Linked DNA regions of Homo sapiens: all the other regions are linked to region 4. Evidence: promoter capture Hi-C in human tissues and cell types (Jung and others, 2019). All regions are on one chromosome and are shown on one strand. The core of a region is centred on a gene start or on the middle of the fragment in contact, and the rest is flanking DNA. Distances in the headings are between cores, read along the strand shown.

Region 1 (3,167 bases), core at 492-2,991, 420 kb before region 4:
GACTGGGATTGTATTGAGTCGATAGATCAGTTTGGTAGAGAATTGACATCTTAATACTGAGCCTCCCAACACGTAAACCCATGTCTCTTTCCATTTACTTAGGTATTCTTTCATTTCTCTCAATGATGTTTTGTAGTTTTCAGTGTACACGGCTGACACATTTTTTTGTCAGATTTATCCTCAAGTTTTTCACGCTATTGTAAAGGGTATTTCTTAAGATTTTTATTTCTGACTGTTGCTAGCAGAGAGAAATACAGTAGAATTTGGAAACTGGGGTTATATCCTGAAACCTCACTAAACTCACATATTAACTCTTTCATAGGATTTTCTACATAAATGATCATGTCACCTGCAAAGACAATCTTGCTTCTTTCTTTCTAAACTGAATGCCTTTTATTTGCTTTTTTTCCCCTTACCTAATGGCCCTGGCTAGAACCTACAGTACAATGTTGAATAGTATTGGTGAGAGCAGACATCCTTGTCTTGTTCCTGATCTTAGGGGGAGAGCTTTCAGTCTTTTACCATTAAATATGATGTTAGCTGTATATTTTTTTTATAAATGCCCTTTATCAGGTTGATGAAGTTCCCTTCTATTCCCAGTTTGTTAAGAGTTATTATCAGAAATGAACATTTGATTTTGCCAATTTTTTTCAGCATCTATTGAGATATTTATGTGGTTTTTCTTTACTAGTTTATTATTATGTGTATTACATTAATTGAACATTAAACCAACCCTATTTGCTGGGCAAATTCCGCTTGGCCATTGCGCATCAGCCTCCTCATTCACTGTTAAATTTGATTTGCTACAATTTTGTTAAGAATTTATTCATCTAAGTTCAAGAGGGATGTTACTCTGTGGTTACGTTCTTTGTGCTGTCTTTGTCTGGACTTGGTATCAGAGTAACGCTGGCCTCACAGAATCAGCTGAGAAAAATTCCTTCCTCTTCAATTTTCTAGAAGAGCTTGTGTTGAATTAAAATTAATTTTTCCTTAATGATTTGATAGAATTCCTGAGTGAAGTCATCTGGCTCTCCAGTTTTCTTTGTTGAAAAGATCTAAGCTATGATTTCAAGTTCTTTAAGAGAAATATATACTTTCCAGGTTATCTTTTCTTGAGTGATGTTTAGTATTTGCGTCTTTCCAGGAATGTATCTATTTCATCTAAGTTGTCAAATTTACTGGCATAAACTTGTTCATAATATTCTCTGGTTATCCTTTTTAATGTCTATAGAATCTGGAATAATGTTATCTCTCTCATTCTGATATTGGTAATTTGTTCATTCGTTTGTTTGTTTGTTTGAGATGGAGTCTCGCTCTGTCGCCCCGTGATCTCAGCTCACTGCAACCTCCAACTCCCAGGTTCAAGCAATTCTCTTGCCTAAGCCTCCTGAGTAGCTGGTATTACAGGTGCCTGCCACCATGCCTGGCTAATTTTTCTATTTTTAGTAGAGACGGGGTTTCACCATGTTGCCCAGGTTGATCTCAAACTGCTGGCCTCAGGTGTTTCACCCGCCTCGGCCTCCCAGAGTGCTGGGATTACAGGCAGGAGCCACTGCACTTGGCCTCTGATATTGGTAATTTGTGTTTTCTCTTTTTTTCCTGATCAATATGGCTAGAGGTTTGTGAATTTTATTGATCTGAAAGCTTCTAATATTAGCTTCTGATATTTCTGCATTTTTCAGTTTTCCATTTCATTCATTTCTATTCTGGTTTTTATAATTTCCTTTATTCTCTTTGTTTTCTTTGTGATTTTGCTCTCTTTTTAGTTTCTTAAGGTAATAGCTGATGTTATTGTGATTTTTCTTTTCTAAGAAGGTATTTAAAATTATAAATTTCCATTTAAATACTGTTTTAGCTTCATCCAACAAATTTTTATATGTTTGTGTTTTTATTTTCTTTCGGTTAAAAATTCTAATGTCCCTTTTAATTTCTCCTTTGACCCATGGGTTATTTAGAAGTGTATTATTTAGTTTCCAAATATTTGTGGATTTTTCAGTTATCTTTCTGTTATTGATGTCTAATTTAACACCATTTTGGTCAGAAAAGATACTCTGTATGGTTTGAATCCATTTAAGTTTATTTGGATTTATTCTCATTCTCCCCGATTTAATCTAGGAGGGTTGTATGTTTCCAGGAATTTATCCATCTCCTCTAGGTTTTCTAGTTTGTGCGTGCAAAGGTGTTCATAGTAGCCTTGAATGATCTTTTGTATTTCTGTGGTGTCTGTTGTAATATCTCCCGTTTCATTTCTAATTGAGCTTATTTGGATTTTCTCCCTTCTTTTCTTGGTTAATCTTGCTAATGGTCTATCAATTTTATTTATCTTTTCAAAGAAACCACTTTTTGTTTCATTTATCTTTTGTATTTTTTGTTTGTTTGTTTCAATTTCATTTAGTTCTGCTCTGATCTTGGTTATTTCCTTTCTTCTGCTAGGTTTGGGTTTGGTTTGTTCTTGTTTCTCTAGTTCCTTGAGGTGTGACCTTAGATTGTCTATTTGTGCTCTTTCAGACTTTTTTGATGTAGGCATTTAGGGCTATGAACTTTCCTCTTAGCACTGCTTTTGCTGTATCCCGCAGGTGTTGATATGTTGTGTCACTATTATCATTCAGTTTGAAGAATTTTTAAATTTCCATCTTGATTTCATTGTGACCCAATGCTCATTCAGGAGCAGGTTATTTAATTTCCATGTAATTGCACGGTGTTGAAGATTCCTTTTAAAGTTGATTTCCAGTTTCAGATCCACTGTGGTCTGAGTGCTTGATATAATTTTAATTTTCTTAAATTTATTGAGATTTATTTATGACTGAGACTATGGTTTATTCTGGTAAATGTTCTATGTGCACTTGAAAAGAATATATATTCTGCAGTTGTATGAAGCGTTCCATAAATCTCAATTAGGTCAAATTTGTTCAAGTGTTGTTCAAGTCGTCTGTATCCTTGCTTATTTTCTGTCTAGTTGTTCTATTAATTATCAAAAGAGGGATGTTGAAATATCTGCTTATAATAGTAGATTTGTCTGTTTCTCCTTGCTGTTCAATCAATTCTGCTTCCTGTATTTCAAAGCTTTCTTATTTGATGAATATGTTTTATATTTAAAGTGGGTTTCTTGTAGCATATAGTTGATTGTTGCGTTTTCATTCTATCTGACAAACTCTGTTTTTGAGTGG
Region 2 (2,999 bases), core at 405-2,904, 270 kb before region 4:
AACAGTCTTCTCACCCTTGTTTTTGCCAATTTATTGCCTATTCTTACCCAACATTTTCCCTCCCTTTTTCAATTCCAGTCAGTGCTGGTCCCTGCAATTGTCATGCTGACAAGTCTCCATACTTCGCTTGTGCCCACACCTTTCTGTGCTCCTAAAAAATCTTGCCTCTTTTGCAAGAGCCAGATCAACTTCTTACTGCTCCATAAAGCCTTCCACAGTTGAAACAGCTCTTATACCTGTCTTACTTCACTAATCTTGTTTACAACCTGTACCAAATGTTTGCTTGTTTTCTTATTTCAGATGTGTTCAGTTGTTTCTACAAAATTGTAGGAATTTTTTTCCTATAAAAAAAATCATGTTTCCTAGCTGAGTGCAGTGGCTCACCCCTGTAATCCCAGTACTTTGGTAGGCCGAGGTAGGAGGATTGCTTGAGCCCAGGAGTTTGACACCAGCACCACCTCATTCCAGCTCGGGGCAACTGAGTGAGACTTCGTCTCTAAATAAATAAATAAGAAGTTTAGTGCTTGAGGTTTCTATTGGGAGCTGGTTCTGTACACTATGGAAATCTACTCCCCGCCCCACTTTAAAATTACTGTGTAGTATTCCTTGGTGTGATTACAGGATGATTTAACTTTTCCCTATTGATTGGTTTTTGGTTATGATTTTATGCTGCGGTGTCTATCTTTGTACGGTTCCTTTTTCAGAGGCTTAGATTTGAATTGATGGATCATAAGATAGTGACATTTAAAAATTCATTGTGAATAGATACTTCCAAATTGCTCACCAGAAGCTTAGTGCTAGTCCATACATACTTCTGATAGCAAGTACAAGAGTACCCTTCAGAAGGGATTAATTTTAATGATATTCAGGGCTGGGAATGTAGGAAAAATTGACCATCAAGTGTCAGGAGGCGCAAGAGTAGGAAGGGGCATTCTACCTCCAAGGTGTACCCTGCTCCCTTGATAGGCCCTTGAAATAGAGACAGACTCTCACTATGTTGCCCATTCTGTTCTCAAACTCCTGGCCTCCCAGACTCCTGGGATTACAGGCCTGAGCCACCATACCCGGCCAGAAACGCATTCTTGAACGGTACAAGTAAATCATTTGTAGTGGCTACTGGAAGATACGGGCAAAATTTGAAGCTTAGCTTGATTTGTTGTGTGGAATCCTAATCTTGATCTATTTGTTTTTTCAGATCGAGATATTGCATTTCCCCTAGTCAATGTATGAAACCAACTTTAAAATACAATTTACATACAGTAAAATTCAAACATTGAGTGTGTAGGTGAATGATTTGACAAATGTATACACCCTTGTAATTATCACTCCAATCAAGTTAGAAAACATTTCCATTTTCCTAGAAAGTTCCCTCAGTGGCATTGACTTTTACAGGCCACCTCAAAGCCTTTATACATGAGATGCAGGACATAAGTCAAGTTCTGATAAAAGGGGAGTCTGGTTTTTACAGACAACGAGGTAGATTCATAGAACTTACAGATGTGAGGTATCCTGCAAAGTAGCCTTCAGGGCATGGATGATTGCTAACTGGAGTGTTGTCTTGGTGGCAGGTGCATCAAACAGGGTGGCCCACTTAGGCCTTTCAAATCCATCAGTCCTTGCTCCTCTTGATAGTTGTGGTAAATGATATAGTCAGATGTCTTAAGTGAGTCTCTATGAACATTTAACTCCTGGAAGCTGACGTGTTTGGGCACAGGTGTTGTTGTTGTTTTTCCAGTTGGCTTTCTCTGAAGGAGGAGATATGGGAAAAAGCATGACTGGTTGGCTGTGATGATAGTGTTGAAGAACAAAACTTACTCCCCTCTGTGCTTACAGTATCGGCTGATACTGTGATATTTCCTTGAGAAGAAATGTCTGGTACATCTTTTAAGTACTAAAGGGGATATTTTTGGCCAGGAAAACACTTGCTAGTAACCTCATCAGAAAGTCTTGAAAATGAAGTTTGAGAAAGGAGAAAATACTCCAGATAGAGACCATTACATGGAGTAAAATTATAGTGACATAGAAGATCAGAAAAGGACATGTCTGTAATTCACAGCAGAACATGAAGAACAAATGCTGAAGGTGCTAGATGTTTCTGAATAAGTACCTGTGCTATTTTGACACAAGAAGGGTAAAGACAGCCTTTTGGGTGCCACTGAGGACTGGTGAGTTGGATTCATGGCTAGGCAATTGAGTGCTTACTAGATAAGCTTTGTGCTAAGTAAGCAGTCCTAATTCTTATAAAAATATTAAGACATTGACATGTATGGTCATTTGCCCCCAGTTTTTTCATGAAGAAACAGAGGCTGAAGAAGATTAAGTATTTTTAACTAGTAATCAGCTTTTAATCTTGACTTCTGCATGTCTCAGGGTAGGTAACATGACAGTGGTGTAACCTAGTTGCCGTTGTTTACTGATTTTACTCTGCTGCTCTCATATGCTGTGGCTTTCTTGCTCCTTGACTTCCCTGGGATTGTAGTGTGAGTGAGCTTGTTCAGTCTTACTACCTCCTGCACACAGAATTCAAAAGAGAGTGAGTCATGGCCACAGTTGGCAGGAATCTGTTATGTTACTCCATTAGCCACATGACACTTCTGCTTGTAACAAAATGACAGCGAAGTATAGCAACAGTTATCATACTCTTCTTCCAGTTATCCTTTTAGCTGATTTTAGTAGTCCTATACTTTACTAAGTTTTTATCAATTGTGCATAATGTCATTCATTTCATTTTTCGGTGTCTGCATCTCCTCTCAGTCTGTTCCATCAGCAAAGCCAACTTAAATTTTGTTTAATCTCATTGCAGCGCACCTATAGCAACAACCCCTTCCAGTTTCTTAGGCACTTGTCTTTCTCCTTTTATCTTCTTCAACATCCCTACTGCCATATGCATTCCAGCCTTGATAAATAATGTGCAGCTTCCAAAATGTCTAGTTCATATCTCCAAATCTCTCTTTTTCTGCCTGATATTCCTTTTTTTTGAAACAGAGTCTTGCTCTGTC
Region 3 (3,016 bases), core at 273-2,772, 440 kb before region 4:
GTGAATATTTTAATAGATACAGAGAAGTTCCACCACCATATGACATGAAAGCATATTATGGGAGAAGTGTTGACTTTAGAGACCCATTTGAAAAAGAACGCTACCGAGAATGGGAGAGAAAATATAGAGAGTGGTATGAAAAATATTATAAAGGTTATGCTGCTGGAGCACAGCCTAGACCCTCAGCAAATAGAGAGAACTTTTCTCCAGAGAGATTTTTGCCACTTAACATCAGGAATTCTCCCTTCACAAGAGGCCGCAGAGAAGACTATGTTGGTGGGCAAAGTCATAGAAGTCGAAACATAGGTAGCAACTATCCAGAAAAGCTTTCAGCAAGAGATGGTCACAATCAGAAGGATAATACAAAGTCAAAAGAGAAGGAGAGTGAAAACGCTCCAGGAGATGGTAAAGGAAATAAGCATAAGAAACACAGAAAAAGAAGAAAAGGGGAGGAAAGTGAGGGTTTTCTGAACCCAGAGTTATTAGAGACTTCTAGGAAATCAAGAGAACCTACAGGTGTTGAAGAAAATAAAACAGACTCATTGTTTGTTCTCCCAAGTAGAGATGATGCCACACCTGTTAGAGATGAACCAATGGATGCAGAATCAATCACTTTTAAATCAGTGTCTGAAAAAGACAAGAGAGAAAGGGATAAACCAAAAGCAAAGGGTGATAAAACCAAACGGAAGAATGATGGATCTGCTGTGTCCAAAAAAGAAAATATTGTAAAACCTGCTAAAGGACCCCAAGAAAAAGTAGATGGAGAACGTGAGAGATCTCCTCGATCTGAACCTCCAATTAAAAAAGCCAAAGAGGAGACTCCGAAGACTGACAATACTAAATCATCATCTTCCTCTCAGAAGGATGAAAAAATCACTGGAACCCCCAGAAAAGCTCACTCTAAATCAGCAAAAGAACACCAAGAAACAAAACCAGTCAAAGAGGAAAAAGTGAAGAAGGACTATTCCAAAGATGTCAAATCAGAAAAGCTAACAACTAAGGAAGAAAAGGCCAAGAAGCCTAATGAGAAAAACAAACCACTTGATAATAAGGGAGAAAAAAGAAAAAGAAAAACTGAAGAAAAAGGCGTAGATAAAGATTTTGAGTCTTCTTCAATGAAAATCTCGAAACTAGAAGTGACTGAAATAGTGAAACCATCACCAAAGCGCAAAATGGAACCTGATACTGAAAAAATGGATAGGACCCCTGAAAAGGACAAAATTTCTTTAAGTGCGCCAGCCAAAAAAATCAAACTCAACAGAGAAACTGGGAAGAAAATTGGAAGTACAGAAAATATATCAAACACAAAAGAACCCTCTGAAAAATTGGAGTCAACATCTAGCAAAGTTAAACAAGAAAAAGTCAAAGGAAAGGTCAGACGAAAAGTGACTGGAACTGAAGGATCCAGCTCAACTCTGGTGGATTACACCAGGTAGCTGAGTGTAGGGGGTGGGTGTGGAACTTTGTTGGGAGAAGGATTTTCTTCAGTTTTATCCATGCTTGTGCTTTTTATATTAATTATGAATGCTGATCTAGGGAAGTAGGCTGGTTTTATGTAGTCTTTTGTTGTCTTTGAAGAAGGGAATTGCCAAAGACAAGGTTGTAAATAGATTTTGGGGGTGAGCCACATTTGTGTTGATACAATCATAATCTTAAATTGTGTGTCTTCCTTAGGGCAGAATAAGTTTTTTGTTTTTTTTAATGTTAAAAGGACATTTGTGTTTAAGTTAGCATTTTTATATTTATCAGTGTTTTATAATTAATAGTAAATTCTTCATTAATTAAAAATATTTTGTTATTCTTTTTAGTACGAGCTCAACTGGAGGCAGTCCTGTGCGGAAATCTGAAGAAAAAACAGATACAAAGCGAACTGTGATTAAAACGATGGAAGAATATAATAATGACAATACCGCGCCAGCTGAAGATGTTATCATTATGATTCAGGTTCCTCAATCCAAATGGGATAAAGATGACTTTGAATCTGAAGAAGAAGATGTTAAATCCACACAGCCTATATCAAGTGTAGGAAAACCTGCTAGTGTTATAAAAAATGTTAGTACAAAGCCATCAAATATAGTCAAGTATCCTGAGAAAGAAAGTGAGCCATCCGAGAAAATTCAGAAATTCACCAAGGACGTGAGCCATGAAATCATACAACATGAGGTTAAAAGTTCAAAAAACTCTGCATCTAGTGAAAAAGGGAAAACCAAAGATCGAGATTATTCAGTGTTGGAAAAGGAGAACCCTGAAAAGAGGAAGAACAGCACTCAGCCAGAGAAAGAGAGTAATTTGGACCGTCTGAATGAACAAGGAAATTTTAAAAGTCTGTCTCAATCTTCCAAAGAGGCTAGAACGTCAGATAAACATGATTCCACTCGTGCTTCCTCAAATAAAGACTTCACTCCCAATAGAGACAAAAAAACTGACTATGACACCAGAGAGTATTCAAGTTCCAAACGTAGAGATGAAAAGAATGAATTAACAAGACGAAAAGACTCTCCTTCTCGGAATAAAGATTCTGCATCTGGACAGAAAAATAAACCAAGGGAAGAGAGAGATTTGCCTAAAAAAGGAACAGGAGATTCCAAAAAAAGTAATTCTAGTCCCTCAAGAGACAGAAAACCTCATGATCACAAAGCCACTTATGATACTAAACGGCCAAATGAAGAGACAAAATCTGTAGATAAAAATCCTTGTAAGGATCGTGAGAAGCATGTATTAGAAGCAAGGAACAATAAAGAGTCAAGTGGCAATAAACTACTTTATATACTTAACCCACCAGAGACACAGGTTGAAAAAGAGCAAATTACTGGGCAAATTGACAAGAGTACTGTCAAGCCTAAACCCCAGTTAAGTCATTCCTCTAGACTTTCCTCTGACTTAACTAGAGAAACTGATGAAGCTGCTTTTGAACCAGACTATAATGAAAGTGACAGTGAAAGTAATGTTTCTGTAAAAGAAGAGGAATCTTCAGGAAACATTTCTAAGGACCTGAAAGATAAAATAGTGGAGAAAG
Region 4 (2,986 bases), core at 214-2,713:
CCGCCATTACCACACGTCTACCTTCCTCTCAGCATTATTTCTTTAATTTTCCTGCAAATAACAGAAAAGTAGGTTTGTCTGGGCTTTAGGGGCAGCGATTAACCCTGAAAATAAGAGTTAATTCTCACCACAATAATACGGTAGGGAATCGAAAAAATTAAACAAGGAAACTAAGCAAAAAGATGGAGGAAATGAAACAGTAAAAAGCAAATTTAGAAAACTCGAGAGGAAGTAAAAGTATTTTCATACACTCAAAAAAAAGAAGTGTCCCACGTGCTTCAGCCAAACCAAACTCCCCTTAACTGTTAAAAACAGAAAATCAAAAGAAGAGCTGTGAGAAATTCATACTTTCGTATCTCTTTGCTGAATAAACACTAAATCGGTACAGTACAGCCAGCTGCCCTGAAAGACCTTGAAATATTAGCCCCAGATAATACAGCACATGACAGTCACCTCCAGAAACTCTCAAAAACCACAAATCATTTCTTGTTCTGACAACCTGATCTACCAACTCTGGTCTAGCCTGCCATTTAATAATCAATAACGTTTCTTGTTAAGCACTTCAACCGTAGCAAAGGAAGATAAAGAAGCATTTGTTTCCAAACCTAAGGTGAGACTTTTTAAATTGGCGCAAGGCGTCTCCATAATCCTTTTCCGCCAATTCCTAATTTCTAAATGTCAAGAACTGGCAGCAGCAGTCCAGTTCCTAGGAGCCCTGGTTTTGAGACAGCACCACCTCCGAATTCCCTCAAAGGGCGTTCTGAACTCACTGAGCAAATCCGGCTGGCTTTCATGTCCCTCTAGCCATTTCTTGCCGCCATGCACTTACAGGAGAAGGACTCGCAAACAGCGGGAGCACCGGGAAAGCCTGGGACTGCCGCCCCCCACAGCACAGCGCTCGGCACAGCGTTAGGGACAGAAGTCACCGTTGTTGAGCCCAGGGCAGCGATCCCAGCTGGCTCGGCCCCCGGGAAGGGAGGAGAAGGACCGGGTCTACTCCCCGAGGGCGATGCTCCCGGGGCAGGGACAATGGGCAGGGGACCCCGCGGTGTGGCGGAGGAGGCGGCGGCCCTCCCCTGCAGGTCTCGGGAGCCCGGCGGCGCTGAGAGACAGGCGGGCCGCCTGGAGCGCGGCGCTCGGGCCTCAGCGCGGCGCAGCCCCCGGGCCCGTGCCCCGCTGGTCTCGGGCAGGGGCTGCGGCCCAGCTCAGAGCCGCCGGACCGCGGAGGAGCCGTCCCGCCCCCGCGCCCTCCGCCCTCCGCCCCCAGCCCCGGTGCGACCCCCGTGCTGCCCGGCGCACTCGCCTGCCCACGGTCTGGTTAGCCAGCTGCTTCATGCGGTTGAACTGCTTCTTCATGGCGGCGGTGGCGGCGGCGGCCCGCGGGGCTCGGGCCGGGCAGGGCGGGGGACAGCCTGGCAGCTACTACATCGCTTCCCGGCCCAAACGGCGGCGCGGCGGTGGCTCCCCGGGCCGGCGGCCCCGCCCTCGCCTCGTCACTTCCAGTGGCACCGCCCGCCCGCCCTCTAGGTCTGGCCGAGCCGAGCTGAGCCCGAGTAGAGCCGAGTCGAACCGAGCCGAGGCTAACAGTGCCTTACCTGACACGGGCGAAGAGCTAGAAGGCCCCGGGCGAGAAGACCACTAGGCCTCCTCCGCCTGGCCTCCCCGACCCCAACGCTGCCCGGTCACCCTCTCGTTTATTTCAACGTATGAAAAGCTGTTTCTAGCAGGGCGCAGTGGTTCAACGTTGTAATCTCAGCACTTTGGGAGGCCGAGGGGGCAGATCACTTGAGCTCGGGAGTTCGAGAGCAGCCTGGCCAACACGGTGAAATCCTGTCTCTACTAACAATACAAATTTAGCTGGGCGTGGTGGTGGACGCCTGTAATCCCAGCTACTCAGGAGGCTGAAGCAGGAGAACGGCTTTTACCCGAAAGGCAGAGGTTGCAGTGAGCCGAGATGGCGCCACTGCACTCCAGCCTGGGCAACAGAGTGAGAGACCCTGTCTCGAAAAAAAAAAAAAAAAAAAAAATTAAAGTCAATGTGTGTTTTCCTTAACACACGTGCTCACACACTCATGTCTTCCTGGTTTGGTGGCCTTGGCTCCAGGTAAGCCCCTTCTTTGCATTGGATGGGCAGCAATGTGGCTTCTTTCATCAGCCACATCTCAAATGTGCTCCTAAATGTCATAGAAAAAGGAAAGAGCTCCCTAACTATGGGATAAAGGAGACTGATGCCAGTTTGGAATTCTTAATATCAAAGAATGAGGGACTTCAAGATCTTTTTAGTGACCTAGGAGAGACCTAGGAAGCATCAGAGCTTCAGATAGGGCAGCAAACTAAAAGTTATCGACATCAATTACAACAGAAAGAGGTAGAAATGAGCCTTCCTAAAACAAGAAAGCAAGCACTACAGGATCGGTTGCAGGACCGGCAGCCAGCCCTGGAGTCAGCACATTCAGGGAAGGCCGGAGGTTCCCATCCACACTGCATCCCCTCCATTCCATGTGGTACCCATCATGCTTCAGTGTTCCACGACGCTTACATGGGTTTTTATGACATAATTTCATCATAACAAGAAATAAACAGATAGTCCAATGAAGTTCTAAAACTTGAGTCTCCAGTTGGCCATTGGAAATGTATTGCTCAGACTTATAAAATAGGAGGAACAACTAGTTTTGATGAAAATGAAATCTACAAACTACAAACACCAAATATTAATATCATCAAGGAGCTCAAACAAAAAAGAAGTCAGGATACTGATGACCATCAGCTTGAATTATCAGTATTACAGAATGTTCATCAACAGAAATTGAGGGAAATAAGTTGTAAGCATCAAGAAAATCTAAGCAATTAGGAAGAAAAGATTGAAGAACTGGAAAATTTGTTACAGCAAGGTGGCTCAGGAATTACAGTACATGATCTCTCTAAACTTCAAGAGAAGGAAAACACTATTCATGCAAGCTCTACAAATTGAAAAAGTAGAGTCTAC

The links. Contacts are between HindIII fragments. The study calls those that stand out against the background at their distance.
Region 1: a contact is called between a fragment that was not itself captured here and the fragment with the promoter of ARHGAP17 in region 4, in 1 of the 25 tissues and cell types used here (dorsolateral prefrontal cortex).
Region 2: a contact is called between a fragment that was not itself captured here and the fragment with the promoter of ARHGAP17 in region 4, in 2 of the 25 tissues and cell types used here (aorta and dorsolateral prefrontal cortex).
Region 3: a fragment that was not itself captured here is called in contact with the fragment with the promoter of ARHGAP17 in region 4 in 1 of the 25 tissues and cell types used here (mesenchymal stem cells).

The regions. Positions count from the first base shown.
Region 1 is chr16:24,597,649-24,600,815 of GRCh38, forward strand. No RefSeq gene overlaps it. Among named protein-coding and RNA genes, the nearest start is that of RBBP6, 60 kb to the left of the region's middle. The HindIII fragment of the contact is 3,086 bases long and covers 199-3,167 here.
Region 2 is chr16:24,745,915-24,748,913 of GRCh38, forward strand. All of the region lies in intron 2 of TNRC6A (trinucleotide repeat containing adaptor 6A), which reads left to right. Among named protein-coding and RNA genes, the nearest start is that of TNRC6A, 18 kb to the left of the region's middle. The HindIII fragment of the contact is 3,228 bases long and covers 41-2,999 here.
Region 3 is chr16:24,569,068-24,572,083 of GRCh38, forward strand. RBBP6 (RB binding protein 6, ubiquitin ligase) reads left to right here. Exons shown (of 18, transcript NM_006910.5): 17 at 1-1,432; 18 at 1,809-3,016. Among named protein-coding and RNA genes, the nearest start is that of RBBP6, 31 kb to the left of the region's middle. The HindIII fragment of the contact is 8,080 bases long and covers 1-3,016 here.
Region 4 is chr16:25,013,906-25,016,891 of GRCh38, forward strand. ARHGAP17 (Rho GTPase activating protein 17) reads right to left here and starts at 1,464. Exons shown (of 20, transcript NM_001006634.3): 1 at 1,304-1,464. The coding sequence starts at 1,356. It also overlaps the pseudogene LOC100421171. RefSeq lists enhancers at 352-1,020, 1,021-1,689 and silencers at 1,003-1,052, 1,113-1,162, 1,223-1,272, 1,353-1,602. The HindIII fragment of the contact is 28,450 bases long and covers 1-2,986 here.